3 separate regions of the Homo sapiens genome follow, and all the other regions are linked to region 2. The links are contacts of gene promoters, found by promoter capture Hi-C in blood cells and fetal thymus (Javierre and others, 2016). All regions are on one chromosome and are shown on one strand. Each heading gives the region's core, a stretch centred on a gene start or on the middle of the fragment in contact. The rest is flanking DNA. Distances are from core to core; before and after follow the strand shown. Region 1 holds the start of PSMD7 (proteasome 26S subunit, non-ATPase 7). Region 2 holds the start of CNOT1 (CCR4-NOT transcription complex subunit 1). Region 3 overlaps IST1 (IST1 factor associated with ESCRT-III).

Region 1 (4,225 bases), core at 1-2,500, about 16 Mb before region 2:
GTCTCAGCCTCCCAAAATGCTGGGATTACAGGCGTGAGCCACCATGCTCGGCCTCGTGTTTTAAATAAAAACTGAAACCTCATCTATATATACATTTTTTTTTTTGAGACGGAGTCTAATCAGATTCCCATTTAAAAATGTTAATGGGTTAAAACCACAGCTGATCCAGGAAGCCCTTCGGGGTGCTGAGCATCATCCAGATTTCGATAACAGGAACTCGGTCAAATGAAGACAAACATAGATACGACCCTGGGGGCGGGGGTCAGGGCCAAATTGAAGCTAGCCCCCTTAGCCCCACTCCGGCATCATCCAGGCATCATTCACTTTGCATCATTCACATTTCGGTGAAATCAACTTGGTTAAACGAGGATAAACATAAATACGACCCTGGGGCCGGGGTCAGGGCCAAATGAAGGTAGCCACCCTGCACCCCACTCCAGCATCATCCATATTTCGGTGAAACCAATTCGGTCAAACGAAGATAAACATAGCCTTGGGGCGGGGCTAAATGGAGCTAGCCCACTCCGCCCCACCCAAGCATCATCCAGACATCAGTCACTTTGCATTATTCACATTTCAGTGAAATCAACTGAGTCAAATGAAGATACGACCCTGGGGTCGGGGGTCAGAGCCAAATGAAGCTAGCCCGCCTCCGCCCCACCCTGGCTTTATCCAGATTTCGGCAAAACGAACTTCAAAACGAAGTGACAGACACGAGCTTGGGGGCGGGGGTCAGGGCCAACTAAAGCTAGCCGCATCTCCCGACCCCCAGCATCATCCAGATTTCGGTAAAACGAACTTCGGCAAAACGAACTCGGAAAGGGAACTCTGTAAAACAAACAGGCTAAACGGAACAGGCAGCCAAGGCCCCGAAGTGGCGGCGGCTGGGGCAGGGGCGGGAGGCTGGATGACTCCGGCATCGTGAGCCGACGCTGGTCTGGACTCGTGAACAAGTAAGGGTCACCAGCCGCCCTATCTGCGTCCCCAGCTCGTCCGCGGCCGCCGCGCCATCTCCAGCGTGCCCGTGACTCAGCAGCGGCTGCGCCGCCGGCCCAGCTATAGGGCGCTCGCTCACCGGTTGAAATGATCCACCACACTGAGCAGCACCAGGGGGTGGACCACCACCTTCTGCACTGCCAGCTCCGGCATCGCGACACACCCCGCTCGCCAGGCCTGGCTCCCTGCCACACGCAAACACCGGCAGCAGTAGCGGTCACCGGTACCCTTTCAGGCCCAGTTCCTCTTCTTCCGGTTCGTCAGCCCTCGCGCGGCCTCCTTCTTCCGCTCCCAGAGTGCCTCGCGCGGCGGGCCCGGATCTTCGCCACCGCCGTCATTTGTGGGCGGAGAAAGGGCTGGAGAAAGGCGGGAATCGCCCCTCGTCCCTCGCCGTGCGTTTCCCTGGACTTAAGGGCCGAAGGGACACCGGCGACTTGACCTCCTGGTATTGGCCTGTACCGTCACCTGCAGAGGCTTTTCGCCTCAATTCCTTCCCAGCACCCTCCCCCCGCCACCCCCCCAAAGTAAATAGTTGACAGTTTACTTTTCTACCACCCGGAAGAAGTTCACTTTTGCTTCAGGTCAAAATCCTCCGCGATTTCTGAGAGGAACTTTAAATCTCTAACATAAGAGCACGCTTTTAATGTAATTTGGTAATTTATCTCATTCTCGTTTTCATTGCCGGGGGAATTTCTCCTTTATCTTTACTGTGGACACTTTGCAATGAACGTGGCAACCTGCAGGTTTCCACCTGTCGTTATATTACTGCGTAACTAGGGCTAGAAGAACGCAATTGTGCCGTTGCTTTTGAAATCAAAATTTACAGAAGCGTTGAAGAAAAGACGGAAGGAAGGCAGTAAGGAAGTATGTTGTGATATGTAGCTAGGAAAGAGAAGACTAAGGTAGACAAAGACTTAAGCTTATTTGCAGGAGGCAAATTATAAGAAAAATCATACAGGTTTATATCGTCTCATTTGAAGTTGCTGTTTCTGTAAACGAAAACAGTACTTAAGCAACCTGAATTATTTACTTATATTTTGTTCTGTTTTTAAACAATTTTTGCTTTCCCTTTATCACCAGAGGATTTTCCCAACATTTTGGCCTCTTGTCTTTTTAAGGTGGACTTCCTGATCTCCAAATGTCAAGGGACACACTCAGTCTCTCTTATTTGTGGGTGGTGAAAAACATTAGCAAAGATTAGACTGAAATTTGGCCACCAATGAGAGACATTAATGTAGTCAGGAGTTTGAATTTGTCTGCATGTGAATTTATCTTTGTCTTCTGTCTGCAACTTGGCTTTATTTTCAGATTTTCTGCTAGATCTGCAAGGAAGTAAATGGCAGGATATGCTTAATATTCATAATTAATTGAAGAGACTCAATGCTATCTTTATTTTTTCATTTTTTTTTTTGGTACAGTTGGTGTCTCACTATGTTGTCCAAGCTGGTCTTAAACCCCCAGCCTCAAGCAATCCTCCCACCTCAGCCTCCCAAACTGCTGGGATTACAGGTGTGAGCTACTGTGCCTGGCCATTCATTCTTAATTATAACTAGAAAGATATAAGGGTTATGTTAATGGGGAAAGAAAACTAAGAATTATTGAATCTATTGAGTGCCTATAATATGCCAGCCCTGGTTCAGACGCAAATATTTAATCCTTTTAATTAATGCTTCTCAAACTTTGATATGCTTACAAATCACCAGGGGACCTTGTTAAAATTCAGATTCTGATTCTGTAGGTCTGAGATGGGACCTGAAATTCTGAGCTTCTAACAAGCTTTCAGGTGAGGCCCATGCTGTGTTAACAAGGCTTGTAACAACCTTACGAAGTCGGTATTTTCTCATTACAAATGAAAATTGTTGCTCAAATGTTGCTCTCGAGGTGGGCTTTTTCTCACGCTTTGAAAAAATTTTGTCTTTCTCCCCCTAATGTGTTTCTGCTTTAGTTTTCTCCATAGTTTTTACCACTTGTGAATAGTTTGTAGAATTTACTTATTCTGTTCATTCTTTGTCTCTCATTAGAATGTAAGCTCTTGTTTAGTTTGTAAACTCCTGTTTACTTTTTTTTTTTTTTTTAAATAAATGAGAGACAGTCTCGCTCTGTCACCCAGTCCGGAATGCAGTGGCACAATCTTGGCTCACTGCAACCTTCACCTCCCAGGTTCAAGCGATTCTCATACCTCAGCCTCCCAAGTAGCTGGGACTACAGGTGAGCGCCACCATGCCCCACTAATTTTTCTATTTTTAGTAGAGATGGAGTTTCACTGTGTTGGCCAGGCTTATCTGGAACTCCTGAACTCAAGTGATCTGCCTGCCTTGGCTTCCCAAAGTGCTGGGATTATAGGTGTGAGCCACTGCACCTGGCCCCTAGTTTACTTTTATATTATCATTGTCTTGAAAAGTGCCTGGCACATAGGAGACATTCAGTAATTACTATATAAATGAATAATTAGTTATGATAGTGAAATGGAAGATGACAATAAGGCTCAGACATTGGGAAGGATCTTTCCAAGATCACATTGCTGGTCAGGATCAAGCCAGGTTTCTGTGACCCCAGTTCCTAATTGGTTGGTGTGCCTGCTTGCAGCAGTCTTAGGCAAAAGAATTGCATTAATTTTATTAAGATACTAAATTTCAAACTTTAGAAAGTGATATATTTTATTTCACACTGAGTTCACTTTGCAGTTGTACTAAGCCTAAGCAAGCTGTTTCGAAGCTTATTGGGTGTCTCCAATCCTGACTCACTGAAGCAGTGTGAAACTGACTATGAGCTTAAAAAATTATTCTAGTTACACATGATCATTGTGGAAAAATGACACTATTCAGATAAATAAAAATGAATATAGAGCTGGGCATGGTGGCCTGTGCCTGTAATCCCAGATACTTGGAAGGCTGAGGTTGGAGGATCACTTGAGCCCAGGAGTTCATGACCCTTCCGAACAGTAGGACCTTGTCACAAATAATTAATTAATTGAAATAAATTAAAATCACCTGAAATCGTACCACATACAGAAAACTAAGATTAACCCTGGCCCAAAGTGCTTTTTTTTTGAGACGGAGTCCTACTCTGTCACCGGGCTGGAGTGCAGTGGCACAATCTCGGCTCCCTGTAACCTCCGTCTCCCAGGTTCAAGTGATTCTCCTGCCTCAGCCTCCCAAGCAGCTGGGACTATAGGCGCATGCCACCATGCCCAGCTAATTTGTTTGTATTTTTAGTAGAGACAGGGTTT
Region 2 (4,509 bases), core at 181-2,680:
AAGTGCTGGGATTGCAGGCGTGATCCGCAGCGCCCTGCCTTTTTTTTTTTTTTTTTTTTTTTGAGACAGAGTTTTGCTCTGTCGCTCAGGCTGGAGTGCAGTGGCGCGATCTCTGCTCACTGCAACCCACGCCTCCCGGGTTCAAGCGATTCTCCTGCCTCAGCCTCCTAAGTAGCTGGGATTACAGGTGTGCGCCACCACGCCCGGCTAATTTTTTGTATCTTAGTAGAGATGGGGTTTCACCGTGTTAGCCAGGATGGTCTCGATCACCTGACGTCGTGATCCACCCGCCTCAGCCTCCCAAAGAGCTGGTATTACAAGCGTGAGCCACCGCGCCCGGCCTTAATTTCAAAAGGTAATAGAGCTAACCAGTCAACACTTCCTTCCCAATCCTTTCTCTTTTGGGTACAGGTGAGTATAAAATCTTACCAACTATCATAGTTAACAAACAAACCATAGCAAAATATGTTTCTATGCTTTTTCTCTTGAGAGCAAAGGACATGGGTATCCTTTCTTAGACGGCTTCTAGGACTTAAGCCAGGAAGAGAACTTGCGTCTCCTACGTCTCTGGAAGGCGTCTCTGGAAGGTGTCCCTTCTTCAATAGACAGAACTAAAACAGAAAGTTCCCTTGACCAAAGCGAAGCAAGCGAGGACAAGGTGGCCACCTGGGTGACTACAACCCCCAGCATGCACTGCTCCTTCTAGGGCGCAGCGACGAACGAAGACGCATTACTTCTGCGATGGGAACGGGGTAGAGGAGCGCGACTACACATCCCAGGATGCAAAGCGCCCCAACTCTAGTCACAACCTGGCTTGCTTTCTGGCTGGCGTTCCCCGCCAAAGGGACACTAGGGGAGGGGATTGTTTCGGTTGGGAATCCCCGAAGTCTACTGGACCGTGACATTTCGAAAGAGGAAGGAAAGTGGAGGAAAGCTGTTTCACTGTAATTCAAAGTAGTTCCCGCGCAGGGTGGCGAGGAGTTATGGGCCCCTTCCATAATTTATTGTTCCTCAAAGGCAATGCCAAGCCCCACTGGTCGCAGCCCTCCAGGGCAGGTGGGAAGTACGTGAAGCCCCAAATCGAAGTTATCAGCCTCTCCCTATTGGCCCTCGCCTCGAGCGCAGGCGCGAGGGCTCTGACTCCGGTCCCCTGGGCCTGGTGAGCGGCAATTGGCCAAAGTCCGCGAAGTAGGAGGCCGGATTGGTAGTTGCTAGCAGGAGCCTGATTTCTTCCTCGACTTCTGCAAGTGATAGAGTGTGATTGGTTTAAATCCGCGGGCACCTGTCGGTGATTGGGTAGAAGCCACAGGCGGGGCGCGGCCATTGGCTGGCTCTGGGGCCATCCCTCCTCGGGCGGGCAGCGAATGATGAAATGGGAACGGGGAGGGGAAAGGCCGCGACGTGAGCGCGCGACCTCCGGCGCCATTTTGTAGAGAAACAAGCGGAGTTAACCGAAGAGGGGGTCGAGGAGAGCCGGAGTCGGGGACCCAGGAGTTTCCTGTGTCCAGCGCTGCCGGAGCCGCCTGAGGTGAGGCGGGTTGGCGTCAGGGGCTAGGGTAGGGTGGCGGTGTCAGCTTGGGAACGCGAGAGCCGGTGGGAGGAGGAACAGGGGTGGACCTGGGGCCACTGGAAGCGTTTCCCGGAGCTCTAGGGAGTGAGAGGCAGCCGGGACGGGGAAGTGGGACGAGGCGGGAGAGGGCGGACTCTTCTCCACACGGCTCTCGGAGGCTTCGCGCTCTGAAGATGAGAGGCCAGCGAGAAGGCTCCAGGAAGCGGAGGGTAGAGCGCGGGGTGAGACCCATGGTGGTCTCTGTCCCGGGCCTGGAGGCTCAGGGGGCGGCAGCGGCGGCAGTTCGTGTCGCTGGGCCTGGCTTCGCGCGGGTTGCACCCCTCTGAGACCTCCACGACCTCCTTAACTACTGTTTCTGTCTCTGCTCCCTGATGGTTGCAGTGGGCATCGGCTTCCGAGGCCTAGGGCTTCTGGCGGGGGGGACCGTGTTTGGAGTTTTTGCATGTTTCCAGTTCTTCTCCGTGTACTCGGAGCTGCCACTCTCCCCGTCTTACGCCCCCAGCACGTTGTCAAAGCCCCCCAGGTTTCGGGTGTCCCCGGATGGGAAGGGCGGGCGGGAGCAAGCACTTCCTTATTACTTGCTACAGGTTTTGTTCCACTCGCGCGCCTGGGCGCTCACACTTTCTTTGAAGTTGGCCCCCACCTACTCGGTCCGGTGTCTGCAGTAGTGGCGGTCCTGCTCACCCAGGACAAGTGTCCCGCTAGTGAGCTGAGCACTTGTAGGCCTCAAGGCTGATAAGATCCACGGCAGGTCTTGTAGAGGTACTTAAGGCCAAACACAAATAATACTTTTTCAGTACCACCTCCTTTGCAGAATTCACCCAAGAGGGCTCACAGATACTAACTCCCCGAGGAGTAAGCTTTGTAGATTAAAAAAGAATGCTTGACATCTGTGCGTTTGAAAATGTTGTATTTAAAATAAACTTTATGACAAACTTTTCCCATGAAGTTAATCAAATGTCACATTTCTTAGGACTCTAATAAAGTCTGTTTTCTTCCTGAAAACTGAGTAACAATGCTTAACCTACCCTGCCGATTTCTCTACAATTCGATAGCCTGTGACTACTTGGGTTTTTTTTTTTTTTTAAGTCAGTGATTGAGTGAATATAATTATACTGTTTGAAACAATGCCGAACGTTTTCCTTATGACAGCCCCTTTGATAGGAATAGGGAATACATGGATTAAAAAAATGAGGGAAGGCAAGTAAAATATTAGGAGGAAGGTCAAACAGATTAAGAACAATTTTTTTCTATAGGTACTTGGGTTTAATACTTAAGTGATCTGTGGTCCCGGTTGGTATTCCTACCCTTTTAAAGATTGGCAGCAGAGTATTTTAGCTATTAAGAAGACATGTGGTAACAGTTTAAATAATTATGTTTTAGGATACTGCAAATTGTTACCTTGTCTAAGGAGAATATGCATTGATGATACATGGTTTTAGGTGGCTAGCTGTGCTTTGACTGAAATGATAGCATGTTGATAAAACTAGTTTGGAGAGTTAGTTCCTTTTCAACAAGTGTGGGTTCCCCAAGTCTTAGTGGAAACAAGTCTAGAATCGACTGGGCGCGGTGGCTCACGCCTGTAATCCCAGCACTTAGGGAGGCCAAGGTAGGTGAATCACCAGAGGTCAGGAGTTCGAGACCAGCCTGGCCAACATGTCACAACCGCGTCTCTACTAAAAATACAAAAATTAGCCGGGCGTGGTGGCAGGTGCCTGTAATCCCAGCTACTTGGGAGGCTGAGGCAGGAGAATTGCTTGAACCCGGGAGGCGGAGGTTGCAGTGAGCCGAGATAGAGCTACTGCACTCCAGCCTGGGGGACGGGGAGACTCCGTCTCAAAAAAAAGTCTAGAATGAAGGCGCAAAGACATGTCTATTTGTAACTGAAAATATTTCCTTTTCTTACCTAAGATTGTAATCTTAGAAGTTTTAAGGTACGGTTTTGTGGCATTACGGTGGAAAAGAATTGAAATGTGCTCTTTTTGGTTCCCAGCTTAACACCCCGGGTTCATTTTCTTTTTTTCTAGTTTCTGAATTTCTCTTCGGGGTTTAGATCCTAGTCTCTTTAACATAGATGTTGTCAAGCTAAATAATAAGACATCCTTCTTATTTGGAGTCAAGTCATTAAAAAAAGCTATGAAAACAAATGGAAATGCTTGCCATCTTTTCAAAACATGCTTTAAAGTCTGATTTCAAATTACCTTGCATGTTACTTTTTCTGAGTATGTTTTAGGATAGATTCTGATCTGGTTATGAGAAACTTTTTTTTTTTTTTTTTTTTTGAGATGGAGTCTCGCTCTGTCACCAGGCTGGAGTGCAGCAGCACACAATCTCGGTTCACTGCAACCTTTGCCTCCAGGGTTCAAGCAATTCTGCCTCAGCCCCTCGAGTAGCTGGGACTACAGGTGCCCGCCACCACACCCAGCTAATTTTTGTATTTTAATAGAGACAGGGTTTCACCATGTTGGCCAGGATGGTCTCGAACTCTTAACTTCATGATCCACCCGCCTCACCCTCCCAAAGTGCTGGGATTACAGACGTGAGCCACGGTGCCCAGCCGAGAAGCTTTCTTTTTAACCAGTTTGAATTTATGAACTTGATTATTTCTTTCTGTGTAATAACAAACACGTCTTTGGTACCCAATACCAGAGAATGGAATTTGTCCACAATAATTCTAATTGAGTGCTGTCATATTTTGGGACTAATTTTTTTGGCCCAGGCAAGTGGCTCAAGCCTGTATCCTAGCTTTTTGGGAGGATGAGGGAGGAGGATGCTTGAGACTAGGAGTTAGAGACCAGCCTGGGCAACATGGTGAGACCCTGTCTTTACAAAAAAGAAAATTAAATTAAAAAAAAATTTTGCAAAATATTTGTTATGAGTATTTTGTCCCACATTAACAAAAATAGTAGTCTGCCTTTTTTTTTTTGAGACGGAGTCTC
Region 3 (4,574 bases), core at 971-3,470, about 13 Mb before region 2:
AGTGAAACTGTCTCAAAAAAAAAAAAAGAAAAGTTCATCCATTGTAACCCCTAGAGCAACCACTAAAAAATTGTATACGGCCAGGCATGGTGGCTCATGCCCATAATCGCAGCACTTTGGGAGGGCAAGGTGGGTGGATCACGAGGTCAGGAGTTCGAGACCAGCCTGGCCAACATAGTAAAACCCCATCTCTACTAAAAATACAAAAATTAGCCCGGTGTGATGGCACGCACCTGCAGTCCCAGCTACTTGGGAGGCTGAGGCGGGAGAATTGCTTGAACACGGGAGGCAGAGGCTGCAGTGAGCTGAGACCACGCCACTACACTCCAGCCTGGGTGACACAGTGAGACTCCATCTCAAAAAACAAAAAAACAAAAATACTACACAAAAAAAGCAAAAAAAAAATTTTTTAATGGAATTTAAAAATATGTTCAAATAGCTCAAAAAGCAGGAAACAGAAACAAAAATGAGAGAACAGAAAACAAATAATAAAATGTAGACCTAAACTCAAACATTCAAAAATTACATAATTAAATGAAAATGGTATAAACACAATTAAAAGACAGATATTGTGAGAATGAACCAAAAAATGATCCACTATATACTGTCAACAACAAACTCACTTCAAATATAATAATGTAGGTAGTTTAAAAGTAAAGTATGGGAAAGGTATATATGCAAACACTAATCAAAAGAAAGTTGGAGGCCAGGTATGGTGGCTCATGCCGTAAGCCCAGCACTTTGGGAGGCTGATGTGGGAGGATCGCTGGAGCTCAGGAGTTCAAGACCAGACTAAGAGCAAGATCCCATCTCTACAATTAAAAATAAAAATTAGCTGGACACGGTAGCATGTGCCTGTAGTCCCAGCTACTCGGGGGGACTGAAGTGGGAGAACTGCTTAAGCCCAGGAGGTCAAGGCTGCAGACAGCCATGTTTGTGCAAGTGCACTCCAGACTGGGCAACAGAGCAAGATCCTGTCTCAAAACAACAGGCCGGGCGCAATGGCTCACGCCTGTAATCCCAAAACTTTGGCAGGCCGAGGCAGGTGGATCACTTAGGTCAGGAGTTCGAGATCAGCCTGGTCAACATGACGAAACCCCATCTCTACTAAAAATAAAAAATTAGCCAGGCGTGGTGGCATAAGCCTGTAATCCCAGCTACTTGGGAGGCTGAGGCAGGAAAATTGCTTGAACCTGGCAGGCAGAGATTGCAGCGAGCGGAGATCACACCACTGCACTCAGCCTGGGCAACAACAGCGAAACTCCGTCTCAAAACAACCACCACCACCACCAAACAAATAGAACGTTGGAGGGGTTACATTAAAATCAGACAAAGTAGACTTCAGAGAAAGGAAAACCAGGGATACAGAAGGACATTACATAAGCATAAAAGGGTGAAGTCACCAGGAAGATACAACAATCCTAACTGTGAATGCACCCAACAACAGAGCTTCAAAAACAAAAAGCAAAAACTAACAGAGAGGAAAGGAGAAATAAATCTAATTATAGTTAGAGGCTTCAACATACCTCCCACCATAACTGATCAACCTAGCAGACAGAACACAAACAAGGACAGTGAACTGAACACCACCACCAACTGACGGCATCTCACTGACACTTACAGAACATTACACCCAACACAGCAGTGTACTAGAACATTCATGAATGTAGGACATAGCTGGGGTTCTAAAATCAAACTTAACAAATTAAATAGGACCAGGCATGGTAGCTCTCACCTATAACCTCAGCTACTTGAGAGGCTGAGGTAGAAGGATCGTTTGAGGCCAAGGGACCAGCCTGAGTAACACAGTAAGACCTCGTCTCTATTAAATTTTTAAAGAAGAGGAAAACAAAACCCAAATTAAATAGAATTGAAGTCATACCAAGAATGTTCTTTAACTGTAATGGAATTAAACTAGAAATCAACAGAAAATCTCTTAACATTTGGGAATTCAACAATATACTTCTAGATGAACTGCTTGGAGGTCAAAGAGAAAGCTTCAAGTGAAAAAAATTTTTTAAAGGTTTGTACTGAAAAAAAAAATATATATATGTAACGAATTTGTGGGATGTAGCTAAGGCAGTGCTTAGAGAAAAAATTATATCATTAAGGTTTTAATTAGAAAAGAAGAGGCCAGGCTCAGTGGTTCACACCTGTAATTCCAGCACTTTGGGAGGCCAAGGGGAGAGGATCACTTGAGGCCAGGAGTTTGAGACCAGCTTGGACAATGTAGCAAGACCCCATTCTCTACAAAAAAATTAAAACATTAGCAGGGCATGGTGGCACACACCTGGAGTCCCAGCTACTTGCAAGGCTGAGGCAGTGAGCACGAGAGTTTGAGGAGGCAGTGAGCTATGATCATGCCCACTGCACTCTAGGCTGGACAACAGAGCAAGACTCTGTCTCTCCAGAAAAAAGGTCTCAAATTACTAATCTAAGCTTCCACATTAAGGAACCAGAAAAAGAGCAAAATCAAACCAAAGTAAGCAAAAACAACAAAAAGAAAGCAAAAATCAATGAAATAGAAGAAAAAATAGAAAAAAAATCAAGGAAACTAAATGCTGATTCTTCAAAACGATTTTTTAAAAACTGACATACCTATATAACAAACTCACAAAGAAAAGGAACATATAAACATATAAATTATCAGTATCAGCGATGAAAGGGTGAATATCACTACAGATTCTAAAGACTTTTAAAGGCGATATTATAACCAACATATATCTATAAATTCAACAATTAAATGAAATAAACAAATCCCTCAGAAACTCAAATTTACTAAATTTGACACAAAGAAATAGAAAATATAGCTGCACTAGATCTATTACAAAAATTGAATCTAGGCTGGGCGCGGTGGCTTACGCCTATAATCCCAGCACTTTGGGAAGCCGAGGCGGGCAGATTACTTGTGGTCAAGAGTTCGAAACCAGGTTGGCCAACATGGTGAAACCCCATCTCTACTAAAAATACAAAAATTAGCCAGGCGTGGTGGCAGGCATCTGTAATCCCAGCTACTCGGGAGGCTGAGGCAGAAGAATTGCTTGAACCCAGGAGGTGGAGGTTGCAGTGAGCCGAGATCACACCACTGCATTCCAGCCTGGATGACAGAGCCAGACTTTGTCTCAAAAAAAAAACAATTAAATCTAAAATTAAGAACCATTCCCAAAGAAAATCCAGGCCCAGGTGGCTTCTCTGGCAAATTCTATCAAACATCTGAGGAAAATCAGTACTAATATTACATGAACCTTCACACCTCTTGGGCTGGTATGAGAATTAAGTGAAAATTTGTAAAGAAATTAGCACATTGTGTTATATGTACACAGTAAGCACCATGTAAACATTTGTTAAATAAATTCCAGTCAATGGACCCATATTTTAAAAAGTCTTAGCTCTTCATCTAAAGATTAGCTAGCCTCTTTTGTGTGTTTTATGTTAAAATAAGATGTTTAAGGCATGCTTTATATCTTTTTCCCTCGGTTTAACAATTCTGATTAATCTGTTTCAATCTCACTGCAAGACAACTGTTTCTTACATACTGCCTAGAACGGTATGTCACCCACACACTGCCTAGCACAGTGTTTTGTACAAAGCTGTCGCTCATGTATTATGTTAATTAGTAGAAAATTTAATTAAAAACCACATGCTTTTAAAAAAATTCTACAAATTTACATAATCTAGTTTTGTTTTAGAATTAAGGAAAGAAAAGCAATTTGCTAAACTATTTTGTTAAGTACTGAGGATTTTTCAACTCCTATTCAACAGATCCCCATTTTACGAAGAAACTAATCATTAAAGACAATGACAGTAAACCACAAAAGTAGTAACTAAAGGATATATCCTAAATGATTACCAGTACATTAAATAAATCAGACTAAAAACGAATTTAAAGCAAAAGACTACGCAGGGCGCGGTGGCTCACACCTGTAATCCCAGCACTTTGGGAGGCCGAGGTGGGTGGATCACGAGGTCAGGAGATCGAGACCATTCTGGCTAACGCAGTGAAACCCCATCTCTACTAAAAACACAAAAAATTAGCTGGGTGTGGTGATGGGTGCCTGTAGTCCCAGCTATTTGGGAGGGTGAGGCAGGAGAATGGCGTGAACCCGGGAGGTGGAGCTTGCAGTGAGCCGAGATCGTGCTACTGCACTCCAGCCTGGGCGACAGAGCAAGATTCCGTCTCAAAAAAAAAGAAAAAAAACCAAAAGACTGACTTAATTACTATCTCAGAATTTGAACCTGTTTCCAAAGCTAAACATAACATAAACTTTGTTATCCTGTATGATTAGGAACATTAATTTTGGAAATAATAACCTAAAAGTTAATAAAATATTCTAGTCAACATTTACTATTCATATATACATTAACAAACATAAACAAATTTTTATACATATGTGATTATATACACATCACATACTAACATTGTCCAGTAAGTAATCTAAAATTCTTTTTGTGATTCAGACGTTACTCTAAAATCACTGTGCTTCAACATCTTTACTGTCATTCACTCACTCACCAAATATTTATTGAGTGCTATTCTATTAAGCACTGTGCTAAGCCACTGTCTACAACAGACA

What was found. Contacts are between HindIII fragments. The CHiCAGO score rates a contact against its expected background, and 5 or more counts as called.
Region 1: a contact is called between the fragment with the promoter of PSMD7 here and the fragment with the promoter of CNOT1 in region 2, in 5 of 17 cell types (naive CD8 T cells, non-activated CD4 T cells, total CD4 T cells and 2 more). The highest score is 14.8, in naive CD8 T cells.
Region 3: a contact is called between a fragment that was not itself captured here and the fragment with the promoter of CNOT1 in region 2, in 1 of 17 cell types (activated CD4 T cells). The highest score is 5.4, in activated CD4 T cells.

The regions. Positions count from the first base shown.
Region 1 is chr16:74,293,839-74,298,063 of GRCh38, reverse strand. It overlaps PSMD7 (proteasome 26S subunit, non-ATPase 7), which reads right to left and starts at 1,250. Exons shown (of 7, transcript NM_002811.5): 1 at 1,076-1,250. The coding sequence starts at 1,149. RefSeq lists enhancers at 236-1,125, 1,026-1,335, 1,126-2,017. The HindIII fragment of the contact is 3,645 bases long and covers 1-1,917 here.
Region 2 is chr16:58,626,747-58,631,255 of GRCh38, reverse strand. It overlaps CNOT1 (CCR4-NOT transcription complex subunit 1), which reads left to right and starts at 1,430. Exons shown (of 49, transcript NM_016284.5): 1 at 1,430-1,528. RefSeq lists enhancers at 563-1,052, 1,343-1,552, 1,001-1,676, 1,677-2,353. The HindIII fragment of the contact is 12,291 bases long and covers 1-2,432 here.
Region 3 is chr16:71,900,838-71,905,411 of GRCh38, reverse strand. All of the region lies in intron 1 of IST1 (IST1 factor associated with ESCRT-III), which reads right to left. Among named protein-coding and RNA genes, the nearest start is that of IST1, 7.6 kb to the right of the region's middle. The HindIII fragment of the contact is 442 bases long and covers 2,000-2,441 here.